3 separate regions of the Homo sapiens genome follow, and regions 1 and 2 are each linked to region 3. Evidence: promoter capture Hi-C in 16 types of primary human blood cells and fetal thymus (Javierre and others, 2016). All regions are on one chromosome and are shown on one strand. Each heading gives the region's core, a stretch centred on a gene start or on the middle of the fragment in contact. The rest is flanking DNA. Distances are from core to core; before and after follow the strand shown. Region 1 holds the start of PPP2R5A (protein phosphatase 2 regulatory subunit B'alpha). Region 2 overlaps LOC124904506 (a long non-coding RNA gene). Region 3 holds the start of ANGEL2 (angel homolog 2).

What was found. Contacts are between HindIII fragments. The CHiCAGO score rates a contact against its expected background, and 5 or more counts as called.
Region 1: a contact is called between the fragment with the promoter of PPP2R5A here and the fragment with the promoter of ANGEL2 in region 3, in 3 of 17 cell types (non-activated CD4 T cells, activated CD4 T cells and total CD8 T cells). The highest score is 7.5, in non-activated CD4 T cells.
Region 2: a contact is called between a fragment that was not itself captured here and the fragment with the promoter of ANGEL2 in region 3, in 2 of 17 cell types (fetal thymus and naive B cells). The highest score is 6.3, in fetal thymus.

The regions. Positions count from the first base shown.
Region 1 is chr1:212,282,895-212,286,794 of GRCh38, forward strand. PPP2R5A (protein phosphatase 2 regulatory subunit B'alpha) reads left to right here and starts at 2,516. Exons shown (of 13, transcript NM_006243.4): 1 at 2,516-3,397. The coding sequence starts at 3,217. LINC02608 (long intergenic non-protein coding RNA 2608) reads right to left here and starts at 2,127. Exons shown (of 4, transcript NR_125984.1): 1 at 2,085-2,127. RefSeq lists an enhancer at 2,029-2,108 and a silencer at 2,279-3,248. The HindIII fragment of the contact is 5,039 bases long and covers 399-3,900 here.
Region 2 is chr1:212,457,907-212,461,946 of GRCh38, forward strand. It overlaps LOC124904506 (a long non-coding RNA gene), which reads right to left. Exons shown (of 2, transcript XR_007066870.1): 2 at 3,759-4,040. Among named protein-coding and RNA genes, the nearest start is that of LINC02771, 13 kb to the right of the region's middle. RefSeq lists an enhancer at 3,121-3,290. The HindIII fragment of the contact is 2,354 bases long and covers 1,326-3,679 here.
Region 3 is chr1:213,014,177-213,018,164 of GRCh38, forward strand. ANGEL2 (angel homolog 2) reads right to left here and starts at 1,691. Exons shown (of 9, transcript NM_144567.5): 1 at 1,437-1,691. The coding sequence starts at 1,495. RefSeq lists enhancers at 528-1,116, 1,117-1,704, 1,417-1,726. The HindIII fragment of the contact is 5,816 bases long and covers 1-3,137 here.

The DNA of each region.
Region 1 (3,900 bases), core at 1,266-3,765, 730 kb before region 3:
TTTAATAACTTCTAGATGACTAGAGAATAGTAGTTCCAAACTTTTGTGTACATAAGAATAACCTAGGGAAGTTATTAAAAATAGACTTCTCAGTGCTCTTCCCATAGGTTCTAGTTCTGTTGGGGGGAGGCGGGGGAGGTCCAGGAATCTGCATTTTCAATAAGCACCCCAGAGGATGCTGATGCAGGTGATCCAGTAACCACGCTTTCAGAAATTCTGCTGTTGAGAACTAAAAATGTGATTGTTATCCTCTGCTCAGTAGGGGAAACAGAGGTGTAAAATAAAATAACTGAGTTCTTGCTCTCTTGGTGTTGACAAACTTTCAGCTGTGAGTGGTGTGGACACTAAATGCAATAGGAATACAAAGAAGGGAGGCATCACTTCTGGCTGGATTGTCAAGCTTCATAAAAGATAGGGGGTTTGAAGAAAAGAAATTTCAAAAAGATGAAAAAAAAATGGGCCGGGCGCGGTGGCTCACGCCTGTAATCCCAGCGCTTTGGGAGGCGGAGGTGGCCGAATCACGAGGTCAGGAGTTCGAGACAAGCCTGGGCAACATGGTGAAACCCCGTCGCTACTAAAAATACAAAAAATTAGCCGGGCGTGGTGGCAGGTGCCTGTAATCCCAGCTACTCGGGAGGCTGAGGCAGGAGAATCGCTTGAACCCGGGAGGCGGAGCATGCAGTGAGCCGAGATTGTGCCACCATTGCACTCCAGCCTGGGTGACAGAGCAAGACTCCGTCTCAAAAAAGAAAAAAAAAAGTGGATTATTTCAAGATGTTGGAACAGCAAAGACTAAGTGTTGAGGATGCATAACTTCTTTTAGGGGATCAGTATGTGGAATGATGTGCCTGAACTAAAAAGAGTTTTTGTGGGCACATGTAGGAATTTACACTTGGAAAGACAGGAGTCAGATCGCAGAGAGTCTTGAATTTGGACTCTATTCTGCAGGTATTGGGTGGTTCCTCAAACACGCAGGTAAGATAAAAGTGATCTTAAAAGATTGATGTGGCAGTGAGTTTGAAAGCCGTGAACTACGTTTGGCGGTCTTTGTACACATTGGGAGAAACGCCAATTGTGAAAGTAGATTTAACATGATCTGGAGCTTGACTATGTGAGAAAGCGAAAAGTGTCAGAAACGCTGCTGAGGTTTGAACCTCCTTGACTGGGAGGATTATGTACAATTTCACCGCCCAGCAAATCTGAAGGAGGAAATGTTTTGAGGATAGTATGTTTGGTTCTAGGTCTAGAATTCAACTTCCTGCCAAATTTGGAATCTTCTGTACATATGCATCAGGTGGCTTCGTTTAAATATACGACAATTACTTTTATTATGTTGAAAGGAAAAGGTCTGGAGCTCGAGGGAGGGGATTACAGATTTGGGTCCATTGGCGCAAAGGGAGGCTGACTGTTCAGATTAATAATTATTAACGGCCACCGTATGGAAAGCACTGCACGAAAAACTAAGATGACCAGTCCTCGTCCTTAAGAAATTCAAAATCTAGACGGAATCTCCAAGAAAGAGATTCCGGTAAGAGTACATGGCAAGCCTCCATATCCACACACCACTGACCAATGAATTTGTACTCTTCTCGTTGGAGTAGTTGAGGGCCTTTGGCTCAAGGAGGGGTGAAAATTAGCAGGATACTAAATTGGGAATGAGAAATCTCTTTTTAGAGGGCGTGGACTTGCAGAACTCTTTGAAGCAGCAGATGCTAGACTGCCCAAACCCCACGCGAGAGTAGCTCTCTGGAGTTGCGGAGTCCGAACCTCCCAAGAGCTACAAATTTATTCCGCAACTACCAATTTTGCGGTTTGGGGCCAGTAAGGCGCCAAGACCCGCCCAGGTGTCCAGACCTCGCAACGATTGGACGAGCTCACCTTCTCGCCTTCCCCGGGCCCCTCGCCCGTCAATCACACTGCTTGCTCGCCACCTGACCTCTGCTGCGCCCCCTTTCAGTGGTGTAACACCTGGCGCTCTTTCGCGCCCCAGCCCTCCGGCGCCCCACCAATCGCTTCAGTTCTTCATTGGCCAGCAGAGAGGTGAGGGAAGGGAAGGGGCGCTCTATTTTGCTCTCTGAACGCACCCTCTCAAGTTTCCCAGTCTTCTCGTAGACGGTCAGGAGAGCAATGACAGCCTGGAGCAGTCGCGCGTGAGCGCAAAAATGCCCGCTGGTGGAGGAGCGCTTCCCCTCCCTCCCAAGCGATTTGCCGCATTTGTTCTGACGCAGGGGCACCCCGCTCGCCGTCTTCACTTACGATTGGCTGTGGCCGAAGCCCGTCACACAGCCCGCCCCACTCCTCTGCCTCAAGAGGCCGCACCTCACGCCGTCGCTGCCGCTTAGCCGTGTGATTGGCTAAGAGGGCTGGCATGCTTTCCCGCCCCCTCCCCCGCCGCCGCACCAAGAGGCGGGCGGGACCCCGCGGAAGTTGTCAGTCAAACTCCTCCTTCCCACCCCTTGCGAGGCCCCTCCCCGGGCCGCGCGCCCTGGCGCGCGCACACGCGCACACACTCCCCAGTCGCCTGTACCAACCACCTTCTCAAGTTGTAGCGGTCGCTCGCCTGGGGTTCTCCGTGGGCGGCCGACGGGCGCGTGGGGGAGGGGGTTCGGGCCGCCCAGCGCGGCAAGGAGCGAGTGTGTGCACGCAGAGGGCCGGGGCTACGGGGCAGCGCCCCGGGCGATGAGGGGCCGGCGTTGACCGGGAAGAGCGGGCACCGCGGCAGTGGCTCCGAGGGGACCCGCGATGGCAGCGCCCTGAGAGGAGGCTCCAGGCAGGGCGGGCTGCGCTGGCAGCGGCCGCTGAGGTGCTGGCCGGCCGGCTGGCTGGCGACGGGGGCAGAAGCGACGAGAGGCGCGCTCGGCACCCGCACCCCCGTGCCCCCGCCTCAGTTGTCTAAACTTCGGGCTCTCTTCCACCCGCTCTGCGCGCCCAGAGTCAACAACTTCTTCACCCCCCTCCGCCCCCGCCCTTCCCTCCGTCAGCCCCGGGAGCTCGCCGCGCGCCGGGGACCAGGAACCTCCAGCGCTGAGATGTGGCCGTGAGGCGTTGGCGGGCGGCGAGGAGAAGCTCGGCGGCGTCCCGGGGCCGGAGGGCCGTGGGGCCGGGGCGCAGGGGCGCGAGCACCCCGCGCCTCTCCCCCGCCTCCTCCTGCCGTCTCCGCCGCTGCCCGTGCCTTGCAAGCAGCAGCCGGAGCTGCCAAGCGTCAGGGCCGCGGAGATGTCGTCGTCGTCGCCGCCGGCGGGGGCTGCCAGCGCCGCCATCTCGGCCTCGGAGAAAGTGGACGGCTTCACCCGGAAATCGGTCCGCAAGGCGCAGAGGCAGAAGCGCTCCCAGGGCTCGTCGCAGTTTCGCAGCCAGGGCAGCCAGGCAGAGCTGCACCCGCTGCCCCAGCTCAAAGGTAACCTCCGAGGGCGCAGCCCCAGCAGCGAGCGCAGGGGCTGGCAACGCTTGCCTCTGCGCCAGCAGAGCCATTTCCTGCTGGGTTTCTCCTGCTCAGTTGGGACTGGTAGTGTGTGAGCCGAGTTCCCCACAATGCCTTGGCGTCACCTCACGCCCTCCTCCTTATTCAAACAGGTTTTCTGTGAAGTCTTGGCTGTTTCCTTCTAATTCCCACCTGAACTCTTTCCATCCTAGGGGAGGCCAACACCCTTCCCCACCTGCGCGCTTGCTTAACCTGCACTTCCTATCTTGCGTCCCGTGAAGTAGAGTCCTTCACTCCTCTTCCAGGTTTGCCCTTTCCCGGTCTTGCTTTAACAACCGCACGAACCTTCCCCGACCTTCACTTTCCCGAGTGTCAGCTCCTCTGTTCGGCCACTTTTAGCTAGTCCTTTACTTTTACAGTTATAAAGCCGTCTGCACCCACCTTCTTCTCAACTTCACTTCCCATTGATTGCCCCTAAG
Region 2 (4,040 bases), core at 1,253-3,752, 560 kb before region 3:
TTTGGCTTTGGCAGCTGCTTCCTATCGGATTCAGCCAGTAGGGGGTGCTAGAAGGACACTGGAAAGCTGGAGGGAAGCCCTCTTTTTCTTGTTTACTTCTGTTCTTGTAAGCGGCTCCGGTAGTACTTCTTCACCCCGGCAGCAGCAGTTCCTTACCATAGCAGCAGCTAAATTCAGTTTACAATCTTTCTAACACTTGTAGAACTAACTTCACCCCTAATTCAGAGGCCAACACCAGCCGGCAGGCACCCCCCACCTCACCAGATGTCTGGTTCCAGCCCCACAAGGTGCTCCTGTCTCTAAGTTTTAATCATTCCAAATGCACCCCTTTGCTGCCTCGTCCTTGGGGTGGTAGTGCTTCCTCCATGATACCTTCTTAGCATCTCTGACATTAGTGTTAAGGGGTCCCAACCCCTAACATGAGTTTCCTGGACTGTGGGGGGCCTTTTGTGCCCTTCTGAGCCCTGGGGAGATCAAAAGCAGTTGTCTAACCCCTCGGTGGTTAGTAACTGCTCTACTCTGAGAAAGAAGGGCTGGCTTATCCTTGGAGAGGCCAGTAATTCTGTTCTCAGCTCTTCTCTCTGCGGGCCTCCACATCTCAGGAAGAAAGGACAGGTGCCATCTCAGTTCCAGTCATCTTAGCACACGCCTCCCTCTCTGCCTCCCTGCTGATCTGCACCTTAGCTGTGGCCTGGCCTGGTCTCAAAATGCTCCCAGGAGGAGAGGCCATGGCCTTCTCCATGCCCACCCTCCCTCACCAAGTGTGAGCAGAACTGATGGAGAAGCTGGGCCGAGGGAGGAGAGAAACTCGAGTGGGAGACCTTGGGGCCGTTGGGAGAGGGTACAGAGAAGGTTGCTGCCTCAGATGCCGTGGGTTTCTGTTTCCTTCCCCATTAGTGTCTTTCTCATGGAGAAAATCTGTTTTCCTTGAAGTAACTTGACTGAGTCTTTGACTGGTTCTCCTTTGCAAGGTGAACCCAAGAAAGAAAAGAAAAGACAAGGAACCCAACATCCACAGAGGACCTGCTATGTGGCAGGAAGTGCTGGGAGCCCTGAACACATGTATGGCCCTCCTCGAGGACTGACTGAGCAGCTCTGGCTGATGGGGGTGTGGCTGAGGGGGAGGAGGGGAGGGGCTAGGAAGACAGTCTCAGAAGAAAGAATAATGAACACTAGATGTGAAAACTTCCACAAAGCAGGTGGCCCACCAGGCAGGATCAGAGCAGTTCCCTGCCATTATAGAGTTTCCTTTTGCCTAGCTCTTCTGTGTTTGTATTGGGGTGGTGTGTGTGGGGGGAACACAGTTTTGTTTTGATCATTTATAAAGCTTTACTGAGGTATAATAGATACACAAAAAAATCACATACATATAAAGAGTACATCTTGATGAGTTTGGACATATGCATACACCTGTGATACCATCACCAAAATTTAGGTACTAAACATCTCTATCGCCTCCAAAAATTTCCTTGTGTTCTTTTGTGTTTTGGTTTGTTTTTTTGGTAGTAGGAACACTAAACATGAGATCTATCCTCTCAACATATTTTAAAGGGTGCAATTCTGTATCGTTATCTACAGGCACCATGTTGTACAGCACATCTCCAGAACTTACTCATCTCGCATAACTAAACTTTATACCCATTGAGCAACATTTCTCCATTTCCCCTTCCCCCAGCCCCTGGAAACTGCCCTTCTATTCTCTGCTTCTATGAGTCTGACTATTTTAGATACCCATTTAAGTGGAATCATGCAGTATTTGTCGTTCCGTGTCTGGCTTTTTTCACTTAGTATAAAACCCTCTTGGTTCCTCATGCTGTTGCAATTGGCAGGATTTCCTTCTTTTTTAAGGCTGAATAATATTCCATTGTATGTATTTGTCACATTTTCTTTATCTATTCATCTGTTGATGGACATTTGGGTTGTTTCCCTATCTTGGCTATTGTGAATAAGAAAAAAATACAGTTTCTCAACCCAAAGCAAACAAAGAAACATTGTGCAAAATATAAGTGTTGACAGAAAGGCAGGCCGGGAGGGTAAACAATGGCTGGCATACAGCACAGATCAGGCTTCTGAGAGAACCGTGATGCCCCGGGCACACCTCTTCTGCCAGGACTAGCTCACTGGGGGAATTTGTCAGTGCTGTGCAGACCCATAGGTCTCACCTGGTTCTGGTTTGTAGAGGGAGGCAGTGGGACCCAGGCCCACCAGTGGGAGTTCAGAGCCTGCTGTCAATTCTGCCTTTTCTGCCAGGGCTGTGTCTGAAAGGACTGATAAAAAATGCTCCTGTGTTTGGCTCTCTCTGCACCATTTTAAAACTCTTCGATAGTGATCAGCACAGCTATTAAAAGTATCAGGTGGAAATCAGCCACTCAGGGCTGACAGGTGGCTGATTCTGACCCCCACTCCCCAGCCATACATGTCTAGGGTAGAAACCGGTCACATAAACAGGAACTACAGTCTTTCTCAGGCTTTGCACTTGTCCCAGCCTCTGAGCAGGGCCTCTGGGCCTCCCTTTTGGGCTTGACCCAGCAAGCATCCTACCTGAGCTCACTCCTCACCTGCCCAACTCCAGCGATCTGGGGTGATATCTGCAGGAGCTGCCCTCAGTGCCTCCAAAGCTCGAGAAGGTGCTACATCACAGGTAGAGGGAGGGATGCTGCCTGTGAAGATTTCCTCCCCCACAGAGTGTCCCGGACTGCCGTGGTGCATGGCGCCCTCCTTGGAGGGGAGACACGTGCATCTGCCCTGGGCCACATGTCAGTTCTGACGCTGCATGGCCGTGTGCTCCCTGGGTCTCACCAAGATTCTTGGGCGAGCAGCCTTCCCTGTAGTCTCCTTAGGCTCAAGCCTTCAAGGACTAGGCTAGAGGCTGACCTGAGTGACCAGCACCAAGCGGTCCTCCAAGCTGTCCCTCCTCCTGGACCTCCCCAGCGGGGTGCTCATCACTCTCAGACCAAGACCTCTAGTCTTTCTCTTGGGATGAGTTATTTCTCATCCTTAGTCTCTCACACCAGTGTACTCCTGGGGTCCCAGCCCATAAGACATGTCTGAGTCTCCCCTATGCAAACACCCCACTGTGCACAGGTGTTGTTATCCTCATGTTGTGGGTGGGGAAACTGAGGCTCTGAATGTCAGATGACTTGCCTGAGGTCACTCAGAGTCTCCAGATCCCTAACACTGAGTCAGCCCTATGCTCACCACACAACGCTGTGTTACACACCACCTCACGGTTGTGGCTAAAAGTTATGCTTTGAGGTTGTCACCTGGCTCTGTCCAGGGACCCGCAGGCTGTTCTGAGGTTGGACTTTGGTGGTTCCCATGTAGGCCCAGCATCAGAATTGCCTGTGAAACTTTGAAAAACTCAGGTGCCAGGGCCTAAGCCCAGGGAATTCTGACTCACTAATCCAGGTGGGCTCAGGTGCACAGGTGTCTGTAGAGTCAATTCTCATTCTTCATGGTAGTTATGTTTTATAAAGTCTCTGTGAACACTGAATGAGCAGATACTGAACCTTTGCGCCTAGGGGAAACACAGGGTTAGATTTCTGCCTGCCTCTGGTTACAACCAGTACATAGCCTTGTTTTATGTGTATTTCTATTAAAGACACCTTCTTTACTCTCTACGGTTGACTCATTGACACTGAACTCATGGTCAACAGCACCATAACTTGTGTCTGAAAGAAGCTTGTCTGATACACGTGTTTTCTCTGTATGGGACATCACGGCCTTCTTGTGCTTAGGAACAAACACCAACACTCTGCTTGGGGGACATTAATTTTTTTTTTTATTTTCATAGGTTATTGGGGAACAGGTGGCATTTGGTTACATGAGTCAGTTCTTTAGTGGTGATTTGTGAGATTTTGGTGCACTCATCACCTGGGAAGCATACACTGAACCCAGTTTGTAGTCTTTTATCCCTCACCCCCTTCCCACTCTTTCTCCCTGAGTCCCCAAAGTCCATTGTGTCATTCTTATGCCTTTGCATCCTCATAGCTTAGCTCTCACTTATGAGTGAGAACAGACAATGTTTGGTTTTCCATTCC
Region 3 (3,988 bases), core at 441-2,940:
ACACTTCAGCTTAATAAAGCACCATGTTCCTCTCACTATACTACTTTGGCAAAATGTTAAGATTCAGAGAAGGACTTTTATCCTTTCCTCCAAAATTCTTAACAGCTACATTTCTACCACAGCATCAATAATGTGCGCTCCCATCCCTAAGGGAATTTTGTTTAAGTTGCGTTTACTGTTATTTAACTTTATACGCTGTTATTCTCGTTTTAACAGCATTTAAATTTTTATTATAATTTTTACAGTTTAAGTATTCGCTAGTTGTTCTCTAAAATCTACTTAATTGTAAATCTTTAAAGGCATAACATGGGCATTCTACACTGCTTTGTGATAACTCTGAAAGCCATAGGAATTTGGGCACTTGGTCCATGCATTTTCTATGCTAATAAGCCACTGTATTGAAATATAATACTTGTACTACAAAAGCTATTATCTATATTTGCAGTTATTTATTCAGACTTTTTTTTCTCTTAAGATGTTAAGCTCCTTCAGGGCCAGAACAGAACCGTCTTATTCATTTTAATTCCGTTATCTTCACAAGTGCCTAGCACAGTGCCTGGCAAACAGCTGGTACTCAGGAAACATTGTTGAACTGAATTACCATCAAGTCCCAGGCCTATGGGAGTTACAACCAAATCCCCATCGCTTATGTAATAATACATGCTGTGTTTCCCAAGCGTGGTGGGTGGTACACGAGTCGGTTTCACAGAGTACACAGTTAAATTACTTGATTGTAATTTCTAAATACTTATGTTAGTTTATTAGGAAAAAACATAATCGCACATCAAATCCAAGACTCTGCAGACACTGCTTAGGGTGAAGCTAATGTGGGCAGCACCTACTGAAGTGCTTTTTAAAAAAAACTGAGTCAATTTAAAGAAAAATATCCAGTAAATAATACACGTGAAACAAGAACTTGGCCATAACAGTAAGGGATGACATACAAGTGACTAAAGTTTGAAAGACACTAACACATCAACAAAAATCAAGCCCCTCCTGGGCGTGTGCCACACACGCGCCTCCAAGGGATCAGGCCCGCCGAGACCTACTGCGGAGAGGCGGCCTCCCCGCCGACGCTCGGTTCCCGGGACGGTGCTGCGGAGTGTGTGGAGCAGGCCAGCGCTGGTCTGGAGGCTGGGTTGGGGGAAGCAGGCCAGGGATCCAAAGCCACTGGCACAAGCCTGGCCGGCGGCCCATGAACTCCGCGCCAAGACCCCAGACCTCGTTGGCCCAGCGTCCCGCCAGCTGCGCGGCGGGTTTACCTATCCCGCTTGGTCTCTGGAGGCTCGTCCCGGATGCACCATCGCCCAGACCCTCTTCCTCTTCCTTCCACCCCTAGCCCGCCCCGCCCCGCCCCGGGTTAGTCCCGGACGCCCGCCCGCTCTTTCAGGCCGCCCGCCCCTCTCTCCTCCCTCCGAGTACCCAGCCCTACTGACCGGCCTCTTCCCACCACACAGTGGCCGTAGCCCTTCCTCACACAGCGCCAGGCTTCCATCTTCGCCCTCCGCGTGCGTCCAGTTCCCAGGCCCCGGGTTCCACCTCAATCTCTATAATCGATGCGACGGCCTAAAGTATCTAGGGAACCCCATCACTCTTAAGTACCGACTCCAGTCCTGGCTGCAAGGCATGCTGGGAGGTGCAGTCTCGCCGGCCGGCCTACACTCCATCTTGCGCAGTCAGAGTCCCTGAATGCCTTAACCCGGAATTCTGCTCAAGGAGCATGCGCAGAGCGTGGGACGCGCGTGCAACCATTTCTGAAGAGGGCAAAACACCCGAACTTCGTCTTAAAGAAACAGAAATAAACTTTCTTTTTTTTCTTTTTCTTTCTTTCTTTCTTTTTTTTTTTTTGAGATGGAGTTTCGCTCTTGTCGCCCAGGCTGTAGTGCAATGGCACGATCTCGGCTCACTGCAACCTCCACCTCCCGGGTTCAAGCGATTCTCCTGCCTCAGCCTGCCAAGTAGCTGGGATTACAGGCATGAGCCACCACACCCGGCTAATTTTTGAATTTTTAGTAGAGACAGGGTTGCACCATGTTGGCCAGGCTGGTTTCGAACTCCTGACCTCAAGTGATTCGCCCGCCTCGGCCTCCCAAAGTGCTGGGATTACAGGAGTGAGCTACCGCGCCCGGCAGAAATAAACAGAGCAGTGAAAATTTTTAATTGCCCAAAGTGCAGATTCCCAGCTGAGGCTGAACAACGCATCCTCTGGGTGCCCATGGAACTGAGGTACCACAGAATTTTGCAATTAATGTTGCGGAAGCACAGCCATAGCTCTCACTTTAAAATGTACGTGTATGGGCCGGGCGCGGTGGCTCACGCCTGTAATCCCAGCACTCTGGGAGGCCAAGGCGGGCGGATCACGAGGTCAGGAGATCGAGACCATCCTGGCTAACACGGTGAAACCCCGTCTCTACTAAACATACAAAGAATTAGCCGGGCGTGGTGGCGGGCGCCTGTGGTCCCAGCTACTCGGGAGCCTGAGGCAGGAGAATGGCGTGAACCTGGGAGGCAGAGCTTGCAGTGAGCAGAGATCGAGCCACTGCACTCCAGCCTGGGCGACAGAGCGAGACTCCGTCTCAAAAAAAAAAAAAAAAAAAAAAAAAGTACTTGTATGTCTTGTGTGTCCACCTTTATTAAATGTATTATAGGACTGTAGATTGTTGAAAGACATTATTTAAGTGGAGACCCTGCAAGAAACAGGAAGAGAGAAACCGAGAAAGAATAAAGTGTGGAGAGTAGAGGGGAAAAGGATACTAGAAGGCAGGAGCACTGCTTTTATAGGCTCTTTGAAACAGTGGTAATTTCTTGGGAAGGCTTTTCTTATCCCTGGTGCATAAAAGGAAGTAAAGTGTATTTGAAAAAAACCTTTCCCTCAGTATGTAATTGATTCTTGTTATTTGCAGTAGTTAGGTTCTGTAAAGTTGCTGGAAACACTGAATTAGTAAATACTGAATCATTACTCCTAAGGGAAATACAGGATTAGGATCCTGTAAGCCTCTGGTCGCATTTTCATCAACTTAATCAATACATAGTTTTGTTGTATGTGTGTTTCCGCTTAAAGACATCTTATTTAATATATATTGTTGATTCATTAACATTGAACTCAGTCAACAGCACTATAATTCATACCTCAACAAAGCTTATCTAACACTGCTATTTTCTCTGCAAGGCTCATGACAGCCTTCTTGTGCTTAGGAGCACTATACAGCACAACGCTTGGGGACCATTTTAAACAGCAACATCAACAAAAAGTACAAAAACGTGAAAAACATATCACTAAATGGAATGTGAAAAGGACACTTGGTCCTGATGGCTCACGCCTGTAATCCCAGCAATATGGGAGGCCAAGGCGGCTGGATCGCTTCAGCCAGGGAGTTCAAGACCACACTGGACAACATGGCGAAACCCCGTCCCTACAAAAAATACAAAAATTAGCCGGGCATGGTGGCTCTCGTCTGTAGTCCCAGCTACTCCAGAATTTGAGGTGAAAGGATTACTTTAGCCCGAGAGGGCGAGGCTGCAGTGAACCAAGATAGTGTCACTGTACTCCAGCCCTGGCAACAAGGGGACACTATGGTATAGCATGAGAGCTGAAACAAAAAGGCAGAGAATGCCTTGTTTAGCCTCAGCTGGGAATGTGCACTTTGGGCAATTAAAAATTTTCCCTGCTCTGTACATGTCCAAGAATACATGGAGGTTACAGATCAATTTTAGCAAGTAGGCAAATTTGCAAATATGGAATCCACAAATAATGGAGAAAGACTGTATTTCTGTTTTATACTGCCCTATTTTCTAGTTGTACTCACAATTTTGTAGTTCATTAAATTGACTAGTAGTTTACTGTATGTCTTGTCTTTATAATGAGATTGTAAATAACTTCTGAGGAAAGACCATGACTCATTATTTCCAAAATTTACTTGACCTAGTGCTGTGCTAAGTACACAATATATAGTAGTAAAAATATTTTTGAATGAATGGTTAACAGTGG